Linked DNA regions of Homo sapiens: all the other regions are linked to region 3. Evidence: promoter capture Hi-C in 16 types of primary human blood cells and fetal thymus (Javierre and others, 2016). All regions are on one chromosome and are shown on one strand. Each heading gives the region's core, a stretch centred on a gene start or on the middle of the fragment in contact. The rest is flanking DNA. Distances are from core to core; before and after follow the strand shown. Region 1 holds the start of CDIPT (CDP-diacylglycerol--inositol 3-phosphatidyltransferase). Region 2 holds the start of KIF22 (kinesin family member 22). Region 3 holds the start of NFATC2IP (nuclear factor of activated T cells 2 interacting protein). Region 4 has its middle 7.6 kb from the start of KCTD13.

Region 1 (4,982 bases), core at 1,063-3,562, 910 kb after region 3:
CTCTGTCTCAAAAAAATAAATAAATAAATAAATAAACCCTTGGTCTCACGCAATCCTTCCACCTTAGCCTCCTAAGTAGAGACTACAGGCGTGTACCACTGTGCCTGGCTAAGCTAATTCAAGATTTTGTGTGTGTGTGGAAACAGAGTCTCACTTTGTTGCCCAGGCTGGTCTCAAACTCCTGGCCTCAAGCAATCCTCCCACCTCAGCCTCCCAAAGCGCTGGGATTACAGGCATGAGCCACCATGCCCAGCCATTATCTTTTTAAAAATCCTTCCAGAGGCTGCCTGTGTTCCTGGAATCAAGTCCACACTCCAGCCCTGCAGACCTCTCTGGCTTATCTCCCTTCCCGCTTTCAGTCCCTTCTCTTTGCAGGCCTCATTCCCACTTGTTCCCTGGAGTAATTCACACAGGCCTTCCCCACCAATCCTCCTCCTCCACGCCTCAGCTTACGGGCCCTCCTCCTGGAGTGACTGGGCAGGCCCTGCTCTGCGCCCTCGCCTTCTCCTAGGCTAGGACCAGGATTCAGCCCAGGGCTTCCCACAGCCAAGAGCCTGAGGGGTGGGGTGTGCAGGAAATGCTTACCCTCGAGGTGTAGTAGATCCGAAGCACCGGATTCCCGGACAAGTCGATCATCTTGTGACTCTCACTGCCTCGGACCACAGAACTTGGGGAGAAAACAGGGGAACCCACAAGGTTTCATGACCACTACCATGCATCCAATCCTCATGTTAACACCTATTGTACAGATGGAAAACTGGGCACGGCTAAGGACCAGTATCCTGCCGAAAGCCACAGTTACCTATTTGGGGGCAGAGTCAGGATTCAAATGCCACATTTGAAAGCTCCCATGCCCCTTCCTATAAGCTGTCACCTATATGGAATCCTAGAATACCCAGCCAGAAGAGTCCTAAGAATTGCTTAATGCAACTGTAAACATGACTGAAGCTTTAAAGAGAGGCAGGTTTGCCTGGGGTCTTTCTACAAAGCAGAGCTAAAAAGGAGCCCTTCCAGGATGCCTAGTGCCATCCCAGACACCCTTCCGTCTAGGCTCAGCCCACCCCACTGTAATGTCTCCAAGTGGCCCAGGCCCCCAGAATCGCAGCAGACCTGTGGAGGTGCAGCCAGTGACTGGCCACATCCAAACTCATGCTGATTTGGAAGAACAGCGTGGCTCCAGGGTACAGCAGGGCCAGGTTGACCAACAGGCACATGGTGGAGCAGCGGTCCGTCAGCATGTCCAGCATGGCCCCAAACCGGGTTCCTGGAAGATTAGGTGGGCAAGGGCTGTTATGGCACAGTGGATGCAGGACAGGTGCCCATATTTGGTTTATCACTCTGACGCAGGGTGTAAACGAAGACTGGAAGTGTCCGCCTGCCTGGGGAGGAACGCAGGCTAGAAAACAGGCTGTGTGTGAGGTCAGTGGGCAAAGGTCACCATGGCATGAACTGAGAAAGGCATGAGAGTGGAGGGAACAGGGTAGGAGGAGAGGAAAGCTATGTCTGCAACTCATCAACCCCAGAACCAAGACTCCAGGGCTAGATAGAGACTTGATGCCTCAGGGGAAGCCTTACAGTTGGGTCTGGAGAACAGATTAAAAAATTAGTCAACCCTCCAGAAGCCATCACCCTTCCCTCTCCATCCTCCCTCTAAGCATGCCTTCTGGAACCCCAACTGCTTATGCAGGGCACACAGTAGGCCTCCAGTAAACACCTGTTGAATACACTGTTTTTTGTTTTTTGTTTTTTTTTTTCCGAGACAGAGTCTTGCTCTGTCGCCCAGGCTGGAGTGCAATGGCGCAATCTTGGCTCACTGCAACCTCCGCCTCCCGGGTTCAAGCAATTCTCCTGCCTTAGCCTCCCGAGTAGCTGGGATTACAGGCACGCGTCACCAAGCCCGCTAATTTTTGTATTTTTAGTAGAGACAGGGTTTCACCATGTTGGCCAGGCTGGTCTCGAACTCCTGAACTCGTGATCCACCCACCTCGGCCTCCCAAAGTGCTGGGATTACAGGCGTGAGCCACCGCCCCTGGCCTGAATGGACTTGTATTCAGAGAGACCTCCAGCAGCGCCACCGCCATGTCATGTCTTGCTAATCCACACCTCTCACAAGCAGTGAGTTCTCAAGAGCTAGCTTAAATTCCTTTTGCTACAAAATCAGTCCATTCTTGCTGGGCGCGGCACTTTGGGAGCAAGGCAGGAGGATCGCTTGAGGCTAGGAGCTGGGGACCAATCTGGGCGACACTGCAAGACCCAGTCTCTACAAAAATTTAAAAATTAGCCGGGTGTGGTGGCACGCTCCTGTAGTCCCAGCTAGTCAGGAGGCTGAGGTGGGAGGATTACTTGAGCCCAGAAGATGGGGGCTGCAGTGAGCCATGATCGCGCCACTGCACTCCAGCCTAAGTGACAGAGCGAGACCCTGTCTCAAAAACAAAAAAACAAAACACAAAACAAAAAGCCCCAGGCCATCCTGTTCTGCTTTTTCCAGAGATGGGAATGACAGCCCTCTGACTCTGAGGTCCCGAGGAGGCAGGGGAAGGGAGGAGGGGATTGTTGAACCCCAAGGCTGGCTGAGAGGGGTGTCTGTCACCTTGATTAAGAGCGCGAGCAGCGTGTCCATCGAAAGCGTCCAGCAGGCCGCTGAGCAGGTAGAAGGAGGAGGCCGTGAGGGGGCAGCAGGGCATGAAGTAGAAAGAAATGATGGCGAAGACAATCCGGGCATAACCTTGGAACGGGACGCGGGGAGACAGGGCAGGATCAGGGAGCCCGCCAAGGCCCCTCGCCCTCTCGTTCGGCCCGGGGCCGTGGGCAGCACTCACCGATGAGGTTGGGCACGAACAGGAAGATATTTTCGTCTGGCATCGCGGCGCCTCCCTTGCTGCCCCGGGCCTGCTCTGGAGATGCCAGTGCTGTCCCAGCCCCGCAGCGCGGCCTCAGCCTCCGGCCCGGCGCATCGGCCGCACCACCTGCGCCCTGGACCCCGCCGCCCCAACCTGGCCCCAGATGCTGAAGCCCGCAGCCGTCGGGAGCATGGACCGGCCCCGAGGTGCGCGGGACGCAGGGGGCGCGCGCAGTCCGCCCTTCCTACCCGCAACCTCCCTCGCCTCTGCCAGCCCCGCAGGCGCTCCGGGCCTCCAGCTGCGGTCGCCGCTGCTCCAGCTGCGCGTGGCTTCCGGGAACCTCCTCCTCCGCGCCCGTCGTTGCAAAATTGGAGAGAGGAAAAAGTGGCTTAAAAAAATAGTTGCGGCCCCTTTAAGGCCTGTCGGCTTCCTTTCCCTTTTCCTCCCTCCGCCCCTCTCCCTTGGCTCGTACCAAAGCGCAGAGGAGGAGAGGGAGGAAGGAACCATTAACGTCAAGCAAAGTTAGAAACGGAAAAGGAAAGGGTAAAAGAGAAGACCGAATAAAAATCTCTGCTTTCCTTTTGTGGAGGGTATGACTTCCTGGAGGCAAAGATAAGGCGATAAAATTCCTCCTCCTGAGTCTTTGCGTCCCCAAGAGGCCAGGAGATTTGGTGCAGTCCTCACTTTACTCCCCGCCCCCTAAGTCTCCAGCCGCCTTTGCTCTCGCAGGCTCTAGGCGGCTAGAGAGGCTCCAGAGCGCCCTGCAGATGGGTTGCTTTTCGCGTGCCCCTTGTGATGGGAGGATTAGGTCGCAGGCTCCACCCTACGTCATCCTCCCAAGCTTCTCAAGCGTCTGGCGCTTGGGGTCACTGCCCTCAAGGAGGCACCTGGAGGGGTACGGAGGGGAGGCTGGAGGAGCAAACGGGGCGCGCTAGGAAATTCCTCTGTCTTTAGTTCTAGAACCCCTGATCTCCTAGCAACGAGGCTGCGGAACCTCTGCAGACTCCAAGGGTTTTATAGCGTCCGGTAGCGACACGGAGCCGGCTCCCCCTTTTCCAGCCTTCCTCCCCATCTCCCATTCTCCATCCCCCACGACCTATACCAGAGGTCCTTAGGCCTCCACGTCTCTCCTTTTGCCGAGTAGCCCAAGGTTTCCACCCATCTGCCAGGTCTGGGGCGTCAAGTCGGCTGCCTCGGCTTGGGAAGGTGCTTGGGAGGGAAGAAGGAAGGAGAGGCCCACCAGGCGAAGGGGTGAGGGGTAGGGGGTTGCGGGAGTTCCCTCTCACTCCCGAAGATATAAAGCAACCTTTATTATTATTATTATTTTTTCTTGTGAGAGGGAATGAGGCAGCGGGATGTTTCCTCTAAAGGCCTTGTTTAAACCTGGGCCCGGGGAATGGTGGTGGACTGGGTTCTGGGGGAAAGCGGGCTGGTTTCTCAGGTCAACTCAGGCTTCGACTGTTCCCAGGGGGATGGCGTCCACTCCGATGGGGAATGAGGGGGAGAAGAAGAGCAGCTGGCCATCTCAAGCTGCACCCTCCTTGAGAGGAGGTCCGGTGAGCACTGCAGGGAACCCTAGAGGTGGGAATGTAATGAAGTGAAAGCCTCCCAGGCAGAGGCACCCCGTGCCAGGTCTGAGCCACGGGCCCTGAGACTCTAGCCTCAACCCTGAGTCCTGAAGCCCCGACTCATAGCTCTCAGCACTAGGCCCTGACTCTAAACCCCCACCAAACCCCCCTCCCCCAGGTCCAGAGCTTTCTAGCTAAATCTCAAGGCCCAGTCCTTCAGGAGCAAGCTCCTTGGACCCACAGGCCCCAGCCTGGGAACTCCCACAGCCAGCACTCCCATGTGGGAGCTCCCAGGCTGAACCCCTCCGGCTTTTCCTTTCCCAGGCTTCGTTATCTCGTTCTGAGGAATACCTGTCCCAGATCAGTGCAGAACTCATGGAGGAGGCTTTGTGCACTGCTTGCTGCCACTTGAACCCTGTGCCCATCAAAAAAAAGCAGTCACAAGACCAAGCGACTCAGATATCCAAACGCGGTAACCCCCTGCCTCAGGACCACCGTGTCTAGAGAACCGCTGCCCCCACTATGCCTGGTTACAGTCCCTGACCCCTCCCACCCCTAGCTGAACTCTCCAGGA
Region 2 (4,804 bases), core at 463-2,962, 840 kb after region 3:
TATGTTTATTACGTTACGCAGCCATCATCACTACTTCATTCCAAAATATTTAATATTTCCATCACCCCCAAAAGAAACTCGTTATATCTATTGCTGTAGTGCCAGCTCCTCAGCCCCTCACCATCCCCTGGCAACCACTACTTAGATGTCCTTTTTATGTCTATGGGTTTTTTACTGTAATTTTTAAATTCATTAATGTCAACTTTAATTTAGTTTCACTTCACACACAGTATATACGGCCAGGCCTGGTGGTTCACACCTGTAATCCCAGCACTTTGGGAGGCCAAGGCGGGTGGATCACTTGAGGTCAGGAGTTTGAGACCAGCCTGGCCAACATGGTGAAACCCTGTCTCCATAAAAATACAAAAATTAGCTGAGCGTGGTGGTGCACACCTGTAATCCCAGCTACTCGGGAGGCTGAGGCAGGAGAATCACTTGAACCCAAGAGGCAGAGGTTGGAGTGAACCGAGATTGAGCCACTGCACTCTAGCCTGGGAGATGGAAGTGAAACCCCGTCTCAAAAACAAAAAAACAAAAACCCTCATATACACAAAACATCTTTGGAGGCCTCATTTTTAAAAACTGTAGTGGGATCCCAAGGCAAAACGTTTCAGAAACACTGATCTAAGATTTGTGTTTTTTGTTTTGAGACGGAGTCTCACTCTGGCGCCGTGGCTGGAGTGCGGTGGCACCATCTCGGCTCATTGCAACCTACACCTCCCGGGTTCAAGCGATTCTCCTGCCTCAGCCTCCCGAGTAGCTAGGACTACAGGCGTGCCACCATCCCCGGCTAATTTTTGTGTTTTTAGTAGAGACGGGGTTTCGCCATGTTGGCCAGGCTGGTCTCGAGCTCCTCACCTCAGGTGAGCCTCCCGCCTCAGCCTCCCAAAGTGCTGGGATTACAGGACTGAGCCACCGCGCCCGGCCCGTGTTTTGTTTTGTTGTTCAACAGGGTGGAACATAATGTCTAAACCTGGGCCCTACCTACCTGGTGCTCAAAAGTGGAATGACCGTCCCTAGCCAACCCTTCAGAAAGGACAGAGAGCTACTCAACGGACTGCTGTACTCTTAAGGACTGGGAACCGGAACCGTGGGTGAGTGGGACTGAATCACAGACTAAGCGTTTTCCACGCTTCGCCGACGTGCTGAGTGCCAAGTTATAAAGACAGGAACATCCAAGCTGCTCTCCTGGGCTGACACGGACGCGAGGGGACCTACAGTGGCCTTGGGCCCAGCAGGCAGCGACTGCAACGTGACTGCCCAGAGTCCAGCCCCTGGGGCCCAGATCTACAGAACCGACCAGACGTGATAGCCCTTTGGCTGGGGCTGCAGTCCCACGATCCACACAACGACCCTGGCTCCGCAGACGCGCCAACCACCCACGGAGGCAAGAAACTGCAGAAAGTAAAGGGAAAGGGAGCCCAGTGCCGGGCGGCGCTGAGCAGCTCCCCCAGCGGCCACCGTCGCCAACATCCCTGCGTAGGGGTTTGTATCGCAGCGCGCTTCCAGACATCAACGGCTGCGCGGCCCACGCGCGCGCATGCGTCCTGACCAGGGGAACCTTTTCTTGGGGACCCGGAGGCGAGCGCTGGAAGGCGGGATAGTGGCGACCCACACGCAGCAGCTTCCGGCGGCGCGTAGTCTTGATTGGTGGAACCTGGGAGAGGGGGCGGGGCACCGGGGAATTCGAATGGGAGAGGCGGGCCCAAGGAGGGAGTGGAATGGCCGCGGGCGGCTCGACGCAGCAGAGGCGACGCGAGATGGCGGCAGCTTCAGCGGCGGCGATCTCAGGTACTTGAGCCCGGCCTGGGCAAGGCGGGTACCGACGTCTGGAGTTTAGTGGGAGTTATGTGTCGGAGTGTGGTCCAGGCTCTGCGGGTTGTCGCGGAGAGGCGGCCATGGCGCAGGGGCGGGGAGAGGGGGACGGTGAGAGTGTGGGGTCGCGAGCCGGTCGCCCCGCCTGGCTCCTGCCTTCTCCCTGTTTCCTGCTCTCCCCTTGGGTCAGTAGACTCGGGTCTCCGGTCCAGGCTCTTGGCTTGAACCCCGCGCACTTTTTCTTTGTGAGCTTCGGTTTCTTCGTCTGTGAAACGGGGGTCATGGCCTCATCCCTGGAGATCACCTGAATAAGCAAGAGAAGAGTGGCGGACGCTCTAGCCACGAGGACGAGAAGAAGGGAGCCGGAGGCGTGTATTGGGAAGGGTTCTGTGTGGGACATGGTGTTTGGGTGCAGAGACATCCCTGAGAGATGCAAGAGGACGGGCTGAGGAACAGACCCGGCTGCTGCTGGGTTTGAGTTGGCAGCGTAAGATGCTCTGCGATTACAGGAAAACGAAATAAAAGACTAAAATTTCCTTTCACTCTAGCATGGAAGTGAATGCTATTTTAGGGTTGGAAAGGCTGTTAGGACACCCAAAATCTTGTATGTGAGTATTTGTTTACATGTGCCTCTCTAACCCGGAGACTTAATCCTCGTTAGTGATGATGGTGAGCGCCATAGTAATTCACTGGAGCCCTCGTTAGCCTCGTGGGGAAACAGACATTTAGGAGAATGCCTAACACATGTAGAGCTCTTGCTATGTGCCAGGCACAGTTGTAGGCATTTTATGGTGGTGAACCATTTATTGTCCACACAATGCTATCAGGTTGTTACTATTACTGTCTTTGTTTTACACAGGAAACTGAGGTTAGTTTGTTCAGAGTTAACACAACTAGTAAATATTGGGGCTTGAATTCGCTCTCAAGGAGTCTGAGTGTAGAACCTCTGCTCTTAACCATTATGCCCAAGTACATGTTATCCCTGCTGGCTGAGCACAGTCTCCCCTTACCCTTCGAAGATGCACTGTGTCCGGTGCATGGTAGATATGAAAATGCCTGAATGAATAATGTCCCTTCCTCGAGGAATTTACAGTCTGTTTCAATAGAGTGTCACATACGTAGATGTAATACGAAACACAATGAGAGATGTGTATAAACTGAGGGTGTGGAATCTGAAGTAAGCCCTTGAGTATTCTGGGAGGACTTCATTAAGGGAGTGAATGATACTTGAGATGGGTTTCAAAGGTTGGATAGGAGTTTGCCAGGCCTTGACTAAGAAGACAAGAACAGCAAGTGTTTTCTTATTTATGATGTAAGATGCTCTCTTAGCTCAATTTCCTCATCAATAAAAGGGAGAAGAGTGAATGAAATTTAGGAATTGTGAAAGAAGGGAAAATTAATAATTGCTAGCCTGGTCCAAGCTCAAGGTTGCTTTTATCATGAAAGGGCTAGACTCTTGTGCAGTAAATAATTGTTTACATGTGGCCCTCCCCTCTTCCCTCCTACCCTGGACTGTGAGCCCTGGGGCAGGAATGGCCGTGAGCCATTTTCATGATGGAAATGAACAAGCCAGTGATTAGTAGTTTATTCACTAAATCTTAATTTTTTTCAGCAAATACTTCTTGAGGGCCTACTCTGCGCCAGGTGTTGGGGTTAGAAAGGTGAGCAGGATAAAACTTGTTCTCACAGTTGGCAGTCAGGTGGAGAAAGTGACAAACACGCAATAGTGGGGTGTGACAAATGCTTATGGAGGGGCTAACATGAGCTGTGGTTGCACCTGATAAAGCCTTAGTGTCTACCAGGAAAGGGTTTTTGGTTTTGTTTTTTAAGAGGAGTTAAAATGTGTTTACCTTAGTCACTCCAGGGTGGGGTGGGGAGCAATGCAGATATTCTAGGGAGAGAGATTAACGTGGACAAAAATCCAAAGGTGCAAGAGAACTTGGAGTTTTGTAGGAAGTGAAGGAAATTCATCATGACTGGTAACTTACACTGCAAGGAAGGAAACAGAGGGAATGACTAGAGGGCAGGGAGACACCTTGCTACCACCAGCAAGGAAGGCTGTAAAGACCATGACCTTGGGCAGAGGTAGTGCAGTGGGAGTGGAGAGAAGTGGACTTGTTCAAGAGAGATTTAAAGAGATAGACTTGACAGATGTTAATGATGAACTGATGTGGGAGGTAAGAGACGTTGGAGTTAAAGACTCCCACTTTTGGGGTTGGTGCCATTCATTTACATCAGAGATCAAAGGAGGAGGCTGCAGAGAGATGGGGAAGGAGGGTTCAGTTTAGGACAGGTGGAGTTTAAGAGGAGCCGTCGGCTGGGCTCACGCCTGTAATCCCAGCATTTTGGGAGACCAAGGTGGGTGGATCACGAGGTCAAGAGATCGAGACCATCTTGGCCAACATGGTGAAACCCTGTCTCTAAAATTAATCAAAAATTAGCTGGGCGTGGTGGCGTGCACCTGTAGTCCCAGCTATTCGGGAGGCTGAGGCAGGAGAATCGCTTGAACCGGGAGGCGGAGATTGCAGTGAGCCAAGAGCGCCACTGCACTCCAGCCTGGCGACAGTGAGATTCTGTCTCAAAAAAAAGGAGCCGTCAGGGCAGCCGTTCAGAACGTGGGCTGCAGTTGAGAGCTCTTGTGCAGAACGTGCAATAGGACTTATCAGCTGTAAGATGTTACTGAAGCCAAGAGGGCGGGTGACCTGCCTATGAAATGAATCTGAGTGGTCTCAGCTCGGGGCAACTTTGTCCCTCACAGGACATTTGGAGATGTCTGGAGAGATTTTTAGTTGTTACAACTTGAGGGTGAGGGTGGAGAATGCTACTGGCATCTAGTAAGCATATGCTAACAGTCTAAATGCACAGGACAGCCCCACAACGGAATTAGCCAGCCCGAAATGTCAGTAGTGCTGAAGTTGAGAAATGCTGGTCTAGAGAAAGGATAGACGGATCCTAGGATGAGGAGTGAACAGAAAACTAGGTAAGACAA
Region 3 (5,284 bases), core at 28-2,527:
AATAAAATAAAATTTAAAAATAAATAAATACATAAGATTTTTTTTTGAGATGGAGTCTCACTCTGTTGCCCAGGCTGGAGTGCAGTGGTACAATCTTGGCTCAGTGCAACCTCTGCCTCCTGGGTTCCAGCGATTCTCCTGCCTCAGCCTCCCGAGTAGCTGAGATTATAGGCGCCTGCCACTACGCCTGTCTAATTTTTGTATTTTAGTAGAGACAGGGTTTTACCATGTTGGTCAGGCTGGTCTCGAACTCCTGACCTCAGGTGATCTGCCCACCTCGGCCTCCCAAAGTGCTGGATTATAGGCGTGAGCCACCACGCCCAGCCTTATTATTTCTATCTTTCTTTCTTTTTTTGAGAGAGAGTCTCGCTCTGTCGGCCAGGCTGGAGTGCAGCGGCAGGATCTGGCTCACTGTAACCTCTGCCTCCCGGGCTCAAGCAATTCTCCTGCCTCAGCCTCCTGAGTAGCTGGGATTACAGGCGCACGCCACCACGCCCGCCTAATTTTTGTATTTTTAGTAGAGACGGGGTTTCACCGTGTTGGCCAGGCTGGTCTTGAACTTCTGACCTCGTGATTCGCCTGCCTCGGCCTCCCAAAGTGCTGGGATTACAGGCGTGAGCCACCGCGCGCGGCCAGCCTTATTATTTCTTTAAAGCATTTTTGAGACAGGGTCTCGCCCTGTCACCCAGGCTGGGGTGCAGTGGTGCGATCTCCGCCTCCCGGGCTCCAGCGAAACTCCCACCTCAGCCTCCTGAGTAGTTGGGACCACAGAGGGGTGCCACCACGCCCGGGTAATTTTTGCATTCTTAGTAGAGACGCGGTTTCGCCACATTGGCCAGGCTGGTCTCAAACTCCTGAGCTCAACCAATCTGCCCGCCTCAGCCTTTCAAAGTGCCAGGATTACGGGCGTGAGGCACCGCGCCTGGTTAAATCCGCGGTTTCCACAGGGAATTCCAGGCCCGCCTTCCTTCTCCCGGAAACCTTACCGCTCGAGGACTACATTTCCCAGGATGCCCTGCGACTAACCAAGCCGGAAGACGGTTGTCTTGGTTGGGCGGGTCCGGGAGAGGCTCGTCTGTGGAGAGGTGGCCCAGCCAATGGGTGAGGCCGACTGAATCGAAAGCTACGGTGATTGTGCCGAGGTGATTGGAATCTTTGGCGCCTTGGTTTCAGAGGTGGGCGCATGATGAGCGGGTACAGAGACCAATGAAAAGGCGGGAAGGCGGATCCCGCGCGTGGGGCGCGAAGAGTTGCTGACGAGCAGGCTGTTTGTCCAATGCAAGGCGAAAGTCGCTGAAGGGGGCGGGGCGAGGCGAGAGGAGGCGGGCGTGTGTTGTGGAGGAAAGTGTGCCATGGCGGAGCCTGTGGGGAAGCGGGGCCGCTGGTCCGGAGGTAGCGGTGCCGGCCGAGGGGGTCGGGGCGGCTGGGGCGGTCGGGGCCGGCGTCCTCGGGCCCAGCGGTCTCCATCCCGGGGCACGCTGGACGTAGTGTCTGTGGACTTGGTCACCGACAGCGATGAGGAAATTCTGGAGGTCGCCACCGCTCGCGGTGCCGCGGACGAGGTTGAGGTGGAGCCCCCGGAGCCCCCGGGGCCGGTCGCGTCCCGGGATAACAGCAACAGTGACAGCGAAGGGGAGGACAGGCGGCCCGCAGGACCCCCGCGGGAGCCGGTCAGGCGGCGGCGGCGGCTGGTGCTGGATCCGGGGGAGGCGCCGCTGGTTCCGGTGTACTCGGGGAAGGTGCGCCCGGTCCCGGGGAGGGGACCGGCGGAAGGGCCAAGGGCTTGGCCTCCAGGGAGGGGCCGGCGTTCGGGGAGGGTAGGGCTATAGGGGTGTTGAGGCTGGCGTTCTGGGGCTGGTCCTCGGGCGTTAGGGTGTTGGAGGCAGGGAGAGGCAGGGCTCCGGGACTTTCTGCAGACTGGGGTGGTGAAGGAGGGTGGGATGCGTTGGAAGTTTAGGATTCCTAGGAGCTAGAGTCTTGGGGGCACAGGGAGGCTGAAGAGCTGGGATTCCTGAGATTTTGGAGAGGGACTGGGAGGACCTGGGGCCGTTGGATTTTGAGGTTGGGGTCCATGGCAAATGAAGCCAGGGAGCTGCAGTATTGGGGGTTGGGGTCCATGCGGGTTCAGAGAGGACTGGGCGGCTCCAGAGGCTGGGGTCCCCCGATGGTCGTGTGAGCAATGGGCTGAGAGTCCCTAAGAGTCAGGGGTAGAGGGGCGGCTAGTAACCTAGTTAAAAAGGGCAAGGAAGCATACATTTCAGAGTGTCTTAGGCAGATGGAGGAAAGGGTGAAGGGTACTTCCATTCTGAATCCTGGGGAAGCTGGACTTCTAGGTTGCCAGGAGAGGGCCAAGGTGTCCACGATCTTAGGGAGGATTTGGGAGCTGGGTGTCAGGGAAGAATTACCCCCAATTTTTTCTTTCGGTAGGGGAAGGACTTGGGCCTGACCCCTCTCCCTTCTTTGTCTTTGCAGGTTAAAAGCAGCCTTCGCCTTATCCCAGATGATCTATCCCTCCTGAAACTCTACCCTCCAGGGGATGAGGAAGGTAAGGGAGGGCCTCCAGGGAGAGGCACGCAGCCGCTGGCTTCTCTTAAGAGAATTCCTGGGGTTTATATTCCTGCAGTCAGTTGTCTCCTGAGGCTCAAGGGAAGAGCGTGGGAGAGGGGACTCCTGCATCCCAGCCACAGGAGCTGGATTGTTAACAAGCATAGAATGTATTAATGTATACATTTCTGGTGCCACCTGAAGAGATGCTGATTCTGTAGTCCTGGGCGGGGCAGGAGGCGGTAAGGTGTTGAGAATCTGTGACATCTTGTTACATCTGCAGCAAGTTCTTTGGGAACACTGGAGCCAGCAGGGTGTTCTCTGAATCTTATCAGGGATGCCCTGTCTTTGTCCTCCCCCACTGATGCATTTTTTGCAAACAACTCAAGGGCGGGGAATAGGAATCTAGTCTAATAAGGAAATAATCCAGTGGGCAAATGGAGACCTTGGACCAAGACTCTTGTACCATGAGGGAGTACAGTGGGGTGATTAAAAGCAAACAGGAGCCATCTGGCCTGGGTTTGAATCTCAGTTCTCTCTTTTTTTTTTTTTTTTTTAGACAGAGTTTCGCTTTTGTTGCCCAAGCTGGAGTGCAATGGCACGATCTCGGCTCGCTGCAACCTCCACCTCCTGGGTTCAAGCGATTCTCCTGCCTCAGCCTTCCCAGTAGCTGACTAATTCCCACCACGCCTGGCTAATTTTTTGTATTTTTAATAGAGATGGGGTTTCACCATGTTGGCCTGGCTGGTCTTGAACTCCTGACCTCAGGTGATCCGCCCATCTTAGCTTCCCAAATTGCTGGGATTACAGGCGTGAGCCACTGTGCCCGGCCTCAGCTCTATCTCTTAATAGCTGTGTGATCTTAGGCGAGTTTCTTTTTTCTTGTTTTGAGACAGAGTCTCACTCTGTCACCCAGGGTGGAGTGTAGTGGCGCAATCTTAGCTCACTGCAACCTCCATCTCCCAGGTTGAAGCCATTCTCCTGCCTCAGCCTCCCGAGTAGCAGGGATTACAGGCGCCCGCCACCATGTCTGGCTTTTTTGTATTTTTAGTAGAGATGGGGTTTCATCATGTTGGCCAGGCTGATCTCGAACTCCTGACCTTAGGTGATCTGTCTGCCTTGGTCACCCAAAGTGCTGGGATTACAGGCGTGAGCCACCACGCCCAGCCTGGGCAAGTTTCTTAATTTCTCAGTGCTTCAATTTCCTCATTATCAAAGTGGGGATAATAGTAGACCCCATTTTGGTGCTGATTTTGGTGAGAATTAACGAAAGGGAATATAGAGAGAGCTGCCTCTTGGCTAGATATATGCTTTAGGACAGTACCTAGGACACAGAAGTGCTACGTAAAAGGTACCTCTATCCCTGATACTCAAAACGTGGGCCCAGCCATATATGGCATCCGTTGGAAGCTTGCTAGAAATGCAGGATCGGCTGGGCACAATGGCTCAAAGTGCTGTAATCCCAGCACTTTGGGAGGCTGAGATGGGAGGATTGCTTGAGCCCAGGAGTTCGAGACCAGCCTGCGCAACATGATGAGACCCTGTTTCTACAGAAAAATAAAAAATTAACCAGGCATGGTGATGTGTACTTGTAGTCCTAGCTACTCAGGAGGCTGAGGTGGGAGAAACACCTGAGCCCAGGAAGTCGAGGCTGCAGTGAGCCATGATCATGCCACTGCACTCCAACCTGGGTGACACAGTAGGACCTGGTCTCAAAAAAAAAAAAAGAAAAACGAAATGCAGAATCATAGGCCTCTTGCAGCTGCCATAGTTAGTTAGGACAGGATTTCATGACTTCAGCATTACTGGCATTTTTTGGACTGGAAAATTCTTTGGTGTTGGAAACTGTCCTGTGCATTGTAGAAAGTTTAGCGGCATCCTGACTTCCATCCCTGGGAAGTATTATACCTCAGCCCCCTCGCCCTCCACATTTTGATAACCAATATTGTCTCTAAACATTGCTATATGTCCCCGCAGAGGCAAAATTGTCCCTGGTTCAGAGCCACTGATCTAGGGTTTCTTATCATTTTTTAATTTTCACAGTATTTATTTTTGTGGTTTGTGATGATCTTTTATTGACAGCGGGCAAATAGAAATTTCTATATTATAGAAAATAATACCTGGTTTCCTTTCATGAGAAATTTAAGTTAATTTTAAGTTAATATGAGCTATCTTTATACTAAATAGCAGTCTCATCCCCTGCCCCCTTTCCCAATATTATCATGTGGCCCTGTGTGTGCCAGGGGCTCCGTGGTCTCCTCCTTTCCTAGGACCTTCTTGAAGCCTCTGACTTGTTTCTTCTTGGCCTTCGCTGGCCTCCCTTGGATAACCCCCTTCTACCTTCTCTTCCTCTGCCCCCAGAGGCAGAGCTGGCAGATTCGAGTGGTCTCTACCATGAGGGCTCCCCATCACCAGGCTCTCCCTGGAAGACAAAGCTGAGGACTAAGGATAAAGAAGAGAAGAAAAAGACAGAGTTTCTGTGAGTGAGGCCAGGGCCCTTGGGCCCTGGGAGCAGGAAGTGAGTTGGAGGGGTAAGCGGAGGCAGGCAGGACTCTTGGGTGACTCCTGAAAGGTTAAGAAGAAGGGATAGAAGGACTGTTGAGTTTCATGTGGGGAATGAATCGCTTGGGGAAAAGAGGTGGCTTACCCCGGAGGGTGACAGTGAACCCTTCAGGATCACCCTTGGGAGTGGATTCTGAGACCCTAGTAATGTGAGCTTAAGGTATGGTTCCAATCCAGC
Region 4 (5,098 bases), core at 732-3,231, 980 kb after region 3:
AAAACTCCATCTAAAAAAAAAAGAAGGCCCTCACCAGATGTGGCTGCTTGACTTTGGAATTCCCACCCTCCAGAACTGTAAGAAATAAATTTTTAAAAATAAAGTACCCAGCCCCTCAGGTATTCTATTGCAACACAGAATGGACTAAGACAGTGTTTATATGTCAAAATCTATTTTCCTGTGTTTAAACTGTCTTCCTTCTCCTTGCAGAGGGAATATAACCTTAGCCTTTTGGAGTGATAATTTCATGTTTGTCTGAAGTAGCTTCTTCTCACATTTTCTTTTTTTTTTTTTTTATGTTCAAAATGCTTTTATTTCTAGGAATTTAGTTTTATTTTTAATTTTTTAATTATTATACTTTAAGTTTTAGGGTACATTTGCACAACGTGCAGGTTTGTTACATATGTATACATGTGCCATGTTGGTGTGCTGCACCCATTAACTCGTCATTTAGCATTAGGTATATCTCCTAATGCTATCCCTCCCCCCTCCCCCCACCCCACAACAGTCCCCGGTGTGTAATGTTCCTCTTTCTGTGTCCATGTGTTCTCATTGTTCAATTCCCACCTATGAGTGAGAACATGTGGTGTTTGGTTTTTTGTCCTTGCCATAGTTTGCTGAGAATGATGGTTTCCAGCTTCATCCATGTCTCTACGAAGGACATGAATTCATCAATTTTTATGGCTGCATAGTATTCCATGGTGTATATGTGCCACATTTTCTTAATCCAGTCTATCATTGTTGGACATTTGGCTTGGTTCCAAGTCTTTGCTATTGTGAATGGTGCCACAATAAACATATGTGTGCATGTGTCTTTATAGCAGCATGATTTATAATCCTTTGGGTATATACCCAGTAATGGAATGGCCGGGTCAAATGGTATTTCTAATTCTAGATCACTGAGGAATCGCCACACCAGCTTCCACAATGGTTGAAGTAGTTTACAGTCCCACCAACAGTGTAAAAGTGTTCCTATTTCTCCACATCCTCTCCAGCACCTGTTGTTTCCTGACTTTTTAATGATCGCCATTCTAACTGGTGTGAGATGGTATCTCATTGTCTTCTCACACTTTCCTGCTGTCCATTTCATTCTCTTTTTCCTCACCTCTCTTGGAAAGCTTTAAAGATTAACTAATCAAAAAATTTTTCAGTTGTATGTGCACAGTCTAGGTAAATCCAGTCCTAAAAGAAATAGAAATGCCTAAAATGCTAAAAGAAACAGAAAATCATATATATATACGTATATACATGTATATCAAGATCAGCTTGGGTAACATGTGAGACCCTGTCTATACAAAAAAAAATACATGTATATACGTATATATATATAGTGTCTGTACATATAGGCACTAAAAAGTATATTTATGTAATAGCCTTTGCTCTTCCAGTTAGAAGAAAAGATCTATCACGCCTGTAGTCCCAGCACTTTGGGAGGCCGAGGAGGGCGGATCACGAGGTCAGGAGATCGAGACCATCCTGGCTAACACGGGGAAACCCCGTCTCTACTAAAAAAAATACAAAAAAATTAGCCAGGCATGGTGGCGGGTGCCTGTAATCCCGGCTACTCAGGAGGCTGAGGCAGGAGAATCGCTTGAACCCAGGAGGTGGAGGTTGCTGTGAGCCGAGATTTTGCCACTGCACTGCAGCCTGGGCAACAAGAGCAAAAACTCCATTTCAAAAAAAAAAAAAAGGTCTTAGTTCCAAGACAAAAGAAGAGCTTTTGGCATGATTCAGTTAAATTTTTTATTCACTCATGTAAAAATGATGCCAGCGTGATATTTTGGTTTGTACAAGAACAGGGTTAATTCTCTTTCTCTCTCTCTCTCTCTCTGAGACAGGGTCCCACTCTGTCACCCCATCTGGACTGCAGTGGCATGATCATGGTTCACTGCAGCCTCAACCTTCTGGGCTCAAGAGATCCTCCTCTCTCAGCCTCCCAAGTAGCTGGGACCCCAGGCACACACCACCATGCCCAGCCAATTTTTTGTTGTTGTTGTATAGACAGGGTCTCACATGTTACCCAGGCTGATCTTGAGCTCCTGGGCTCAAGCAGTTCTCCCACCTTGGCCTCCCAAAGTGTTGTGATTACAGACATGAACCACTCACTGCTCCTGGCCCTCATGATTTAAGCCTTCTCAATGTATTTATGTTGATCTTATGAGTTAAGTAAATTGTGATGGTTTTCATAAATTGTTTAAATGAAAATTATACACAGGCACTCCTTGTTTTATTACACCTCACTTTATTGCTCTTCACAGATATTGCATTTCTTACAAATTGAAGATGTGTGGCAACCCTGTGTTGAGCAAGTGTTTTTTGTTTGTTTGTTTGTTTGTTTTTGCAGTGGAGTCTTGCTCAGGAGGCTGAGGCAGGAGAATCACTTGAATCCAGGAGGCAGAGGTTACAGTGAGCCAAGATCGCATCACTGCACTCCAGCCTGGGCAACAGAGCGAGACTCTGTCTCAAAAGAAAAAAAAAAACTGGAACAGCCTGATTGCTGATATGGAGAAAGTTTTAGTGGCCTGAATAGATCAAAACAGCCACAACAGCTCTAAATCTCTTCATTACTATGAAGACTGAGAGGGATTAGGAAGCTGCAGGAGAAAAATTTGAAGGTAGCAGAGGCTAGTTCATGAGATTTAAGGAAATGAGCCATCTGCAGAACATAAAAGTGCAAGATGAAGCAGCAAGTGCTGTGTAGAAGCTGCAGCAAGTTATCCAGAAGATCTAGTAAGATAATTGATGAAGATGGTTTACTAAACAACAGATTTCCAATGTAGACAGAACAGCCTTCTATTGGAAGAAGATGCCATCTAGGAATTTTATAGCTAGAGAGGAGAAGTCAAAGCTTTGAAGGACAGGTTGACTCTCTTGTCAGGGACTAATGCAGCTGGTCTGGTGACTTTAAGTTGAAGCCAATGCTCATTAACCATTTTGAAAGTCCTAGGGCCCTGAGGAATTATGCTAAATCCATTCTGCCTGTCCCCTATTAATGGAACAAAAAAGCCTGAATGGCCACATGTCTGTTTATAGCATGGTTCATGGAATATTTTAAGCCCACTGTTGAGACCTAGTGCTCAGAAAAAGAGATTCCTTTCAAAATATTATGACAGTTCCTCTGGTCATCCAAGAGCTCTAATGGAGATGTACAAGGAAATTAATGCTGTTTTCCTGCCTACTAATGCAGTATCTGTTCTTCAGCCCATAAGCCAAGGAGTAATTTCAATTTTCAAGTCTTCCTGCAGTTGACCCTTGAACATTGTGGGGGTTAGGGGTGCCAACCCCAACACAGTTGAAAATCCATATATAACTATTTTTCTTTTGTAGAGATAAGGTCTTAATATGTTGCCTGGGCTGGTCTTGTACTCCTGGCCTCAAGCAATCCTCCCACCTCAGCCTTTTTCTTTTTTTTTTTTTTTTTTTGACAGAGCCTCGATCTGTCACCCAGGCTGGAGTGCAGTGGTGTGATCTCAGCTCACTGCAACCTCCGCCTCCTGGGTTCAAGTGCTTCTCTTGCTCCAGCCTCCCAAATAGCTGGGATTACAGGTGTCCGCCACCACACCCAGCTAATTTTAGTATTTTTAATAGAGATGGGGTTTCACCATGTTGGCCAGGCTGGTCTTGAACTCTGACCACAAGTGATCTGCCCACCTCTGCCTTTCAAAGTACTGGGATTACAGGTGTGAGCCACTGCCCCTGGCCTTGGCCTCATATAACTTTTGACTCCCCCCAAACTTAACTACCAATAGCCTACTGTGAACCAGAAGCCTTACCAATAACAGAAACAGTCAATTAACACATACTCTGCATGTTTTATATATTATATACTGTAGTCTTACAACAAAGTAAAGTAGAGAAAAGAAAATGTTATTAGGAAAATCATAGGAAGAGAAAATATATTTATGGTACTGTACTGTATTATGTATACCATAAGTTTATGTCGTATGTTTATAAGATGAATCATCTGTCTGAAATGGTGGGCAGCCACAGCTGCAGACCCCAATCCACATTACATATCAAGCAGTTGAACTTTTTTTTGTAATGTCATGACTTTCCCCTGCTTCTTAGAAGCACTTCCAGCATGACTAGTGGCACTTCACGTGGGTCCCGTGGTGTTATACAAGGCTTACAGTATTGCACTAAACACAATAAAGAACACAGGAGAACCACAAGAGATCACTTTTTACTGTAATACATAATTTACTGGAGAGATAAACTGCTCATGTGGAGATGATTAGCATCACATAGCATTTAAAAAATTATTTTTTCTGCTGCACTTTAAAAATTCTTTTACTTTTTTTTTTTATTATTATTTTGTTGATGTTGAGATGGAGTCTTGCTCTGTCACCCAGGCAGGAGTGCGGTGGCACGATCTTGGCTCACTGCAAGCTCTGCCTCCCGGGTTCACGCCATTCTCCTGCCTCAGCCTCCTGAGTAAGCTGGGACTACAGGCGCCCGCCACAACGCCCGGCTAATTTTTTTGTATTTTTTTTAGTAGAAACAGGATTTCCTCATGTTAGCCAGGATGGTCTCAATCTCCTGACCTTGTGATCCGCCCTCCTCAGCCTCCCAAAGTGCTGGGATTACAGGCGTGAGCCACTGTGCCCGGCCTGCTAATTTTTTAATTTTAAATTATTATGGGTGTATTAGTCCATTTTCATATTGCTATGAAGAGATACTTGAGACTCGGTAATTTATAAAGAAAAAGAGGTTTAATAGATTCACAGTTCCACATGTCTGGGGAGGCCTCACCATCATGACAGAAGGCGAAGGAGGAGCAAAGACACGTCTTACATGGTGGCAGGCAAGAGAGTGTGTGCAGGGGAACTGCCCTTTATAAAACTATCAGAGCTCATGAGACTTATTCACTATCATGGGAACCGCATGGGACCATCTTGGTTCACTGCAACCTCCACCTCCCAGGTTCAAGCGATTCTTGTGCCTCAGCCTCCCAAGTAGCGGGGATTACAGGTGCCTGCCACCATGCCTGGCTAGTTATTGTATTTTTAGTAGAGATGGGGTTTCACCATGTTGGCCAGGCTAGTCTCGAACTCCTGACCTCAGGTGATCCACTTGCCTTGGCCTCCCAAAGTGCTGG

The links. Contacts are between HindIII fragments. The CHiCAGO score rates a contact against its expected background, and 5 or more counts as called.
Region 1: a contact is called between a fragment that was not itself captured here and the fragment with the promoter of NFATC2IP in region 3, in 1 of 17 cell types (total B cells). The highest score is 6.5, in total B cells.
Region 2: a contact is called between the fragment with the promoter of KIF22 here and the fragment with the promoter of NFATC2IP in region 3, in 1 of 17 cell types (fetal thymus). The highest score is 10.5, in fetal thymus.
Region 4: a contact is called between a fragment that was not itself captured here and the fragment with the promoter of NFATC2IP in region 3, in 1 of 17 cell types (fetal thymus). The highest score is 5.2, in fetal thymus.

The regions. Positions count from the first base shown.
Region 1 is chr16:29,859,996-29,864,977 of GRCh38, forward strand. It overlaps CDIPT (CDP-diacylglycerol--inositol 3-phosphatidyltransferase), which reads right to left and starts at 3,231. Exons shown (of 6, transcript NM_006319.5): 1 at 2,820-3,231; 2 at 2,591-2,725; 3 at 1,111-1,264; 4 at 586-667. The coding sequence starts at 2,862. It also overlaps the pseudogene CDIPTOSP. RefSeq lists enhancers at 658-1,196, 3,352-3,889 and silencers at 2,924-3,233, 3,244-3,303. The HindIII fragment of the contact is 2,733 bases long and covers 947-3,679 here.
Region 2 is chr16:29,789,039-29,793,842 of GRCh38, forward strand. It overlaps KIF22 (kinesin family member 22), which reads left to right and starts at 1,713. Exons shown (of 14, transcript NM_007317.3): 1 at 1,713-1,791. The coding sequence starts at 1,722. RefSeq lists an enhancer at 1,124-1,523. The HindIII fragment of the contact is 11,757 bases long and covers 1-4,804 here.
Region 3 is chr16:28,949,660-28,954,943 of GRCh38, forward strand. NFATC2IP (nuclear factor of activated T cells 2 interacting protein) reads left to right here and starts at 1,278. Exons shown (of 8, transcript NM_032815.4): 1 at 1,278-1,739; 2 at 2,473-2,545; 3 at 4,906-5,023. The coding sequence starts at 1,353. It overlaps NFATC2IP-AS1 (NFATC2IP antisense RNA 1), which reads right to left. Exons shown (of 2, transcript NR_186408.1): 2 at 3,243-5,284. RefSeq lists enhancers at 600-1,134, 1,154-1,654 and silencers at 1,374-1,473, 1,614-1,733. The HindIII fragment of the contact is 4,735 bases long and covers 1-3,952 here.
Region 4 is chr16:29,931,287-29,936,384 of GRCh38, forward strand. No RefSeq gene overlaps it. Among named protein-coding and RNA genes, the nearest start is that of KCTD13, 7.6 kb to the left of the region's middle. The HindIII fragment of the contact is 1,730 bases long and covers 1,117-2,846 here.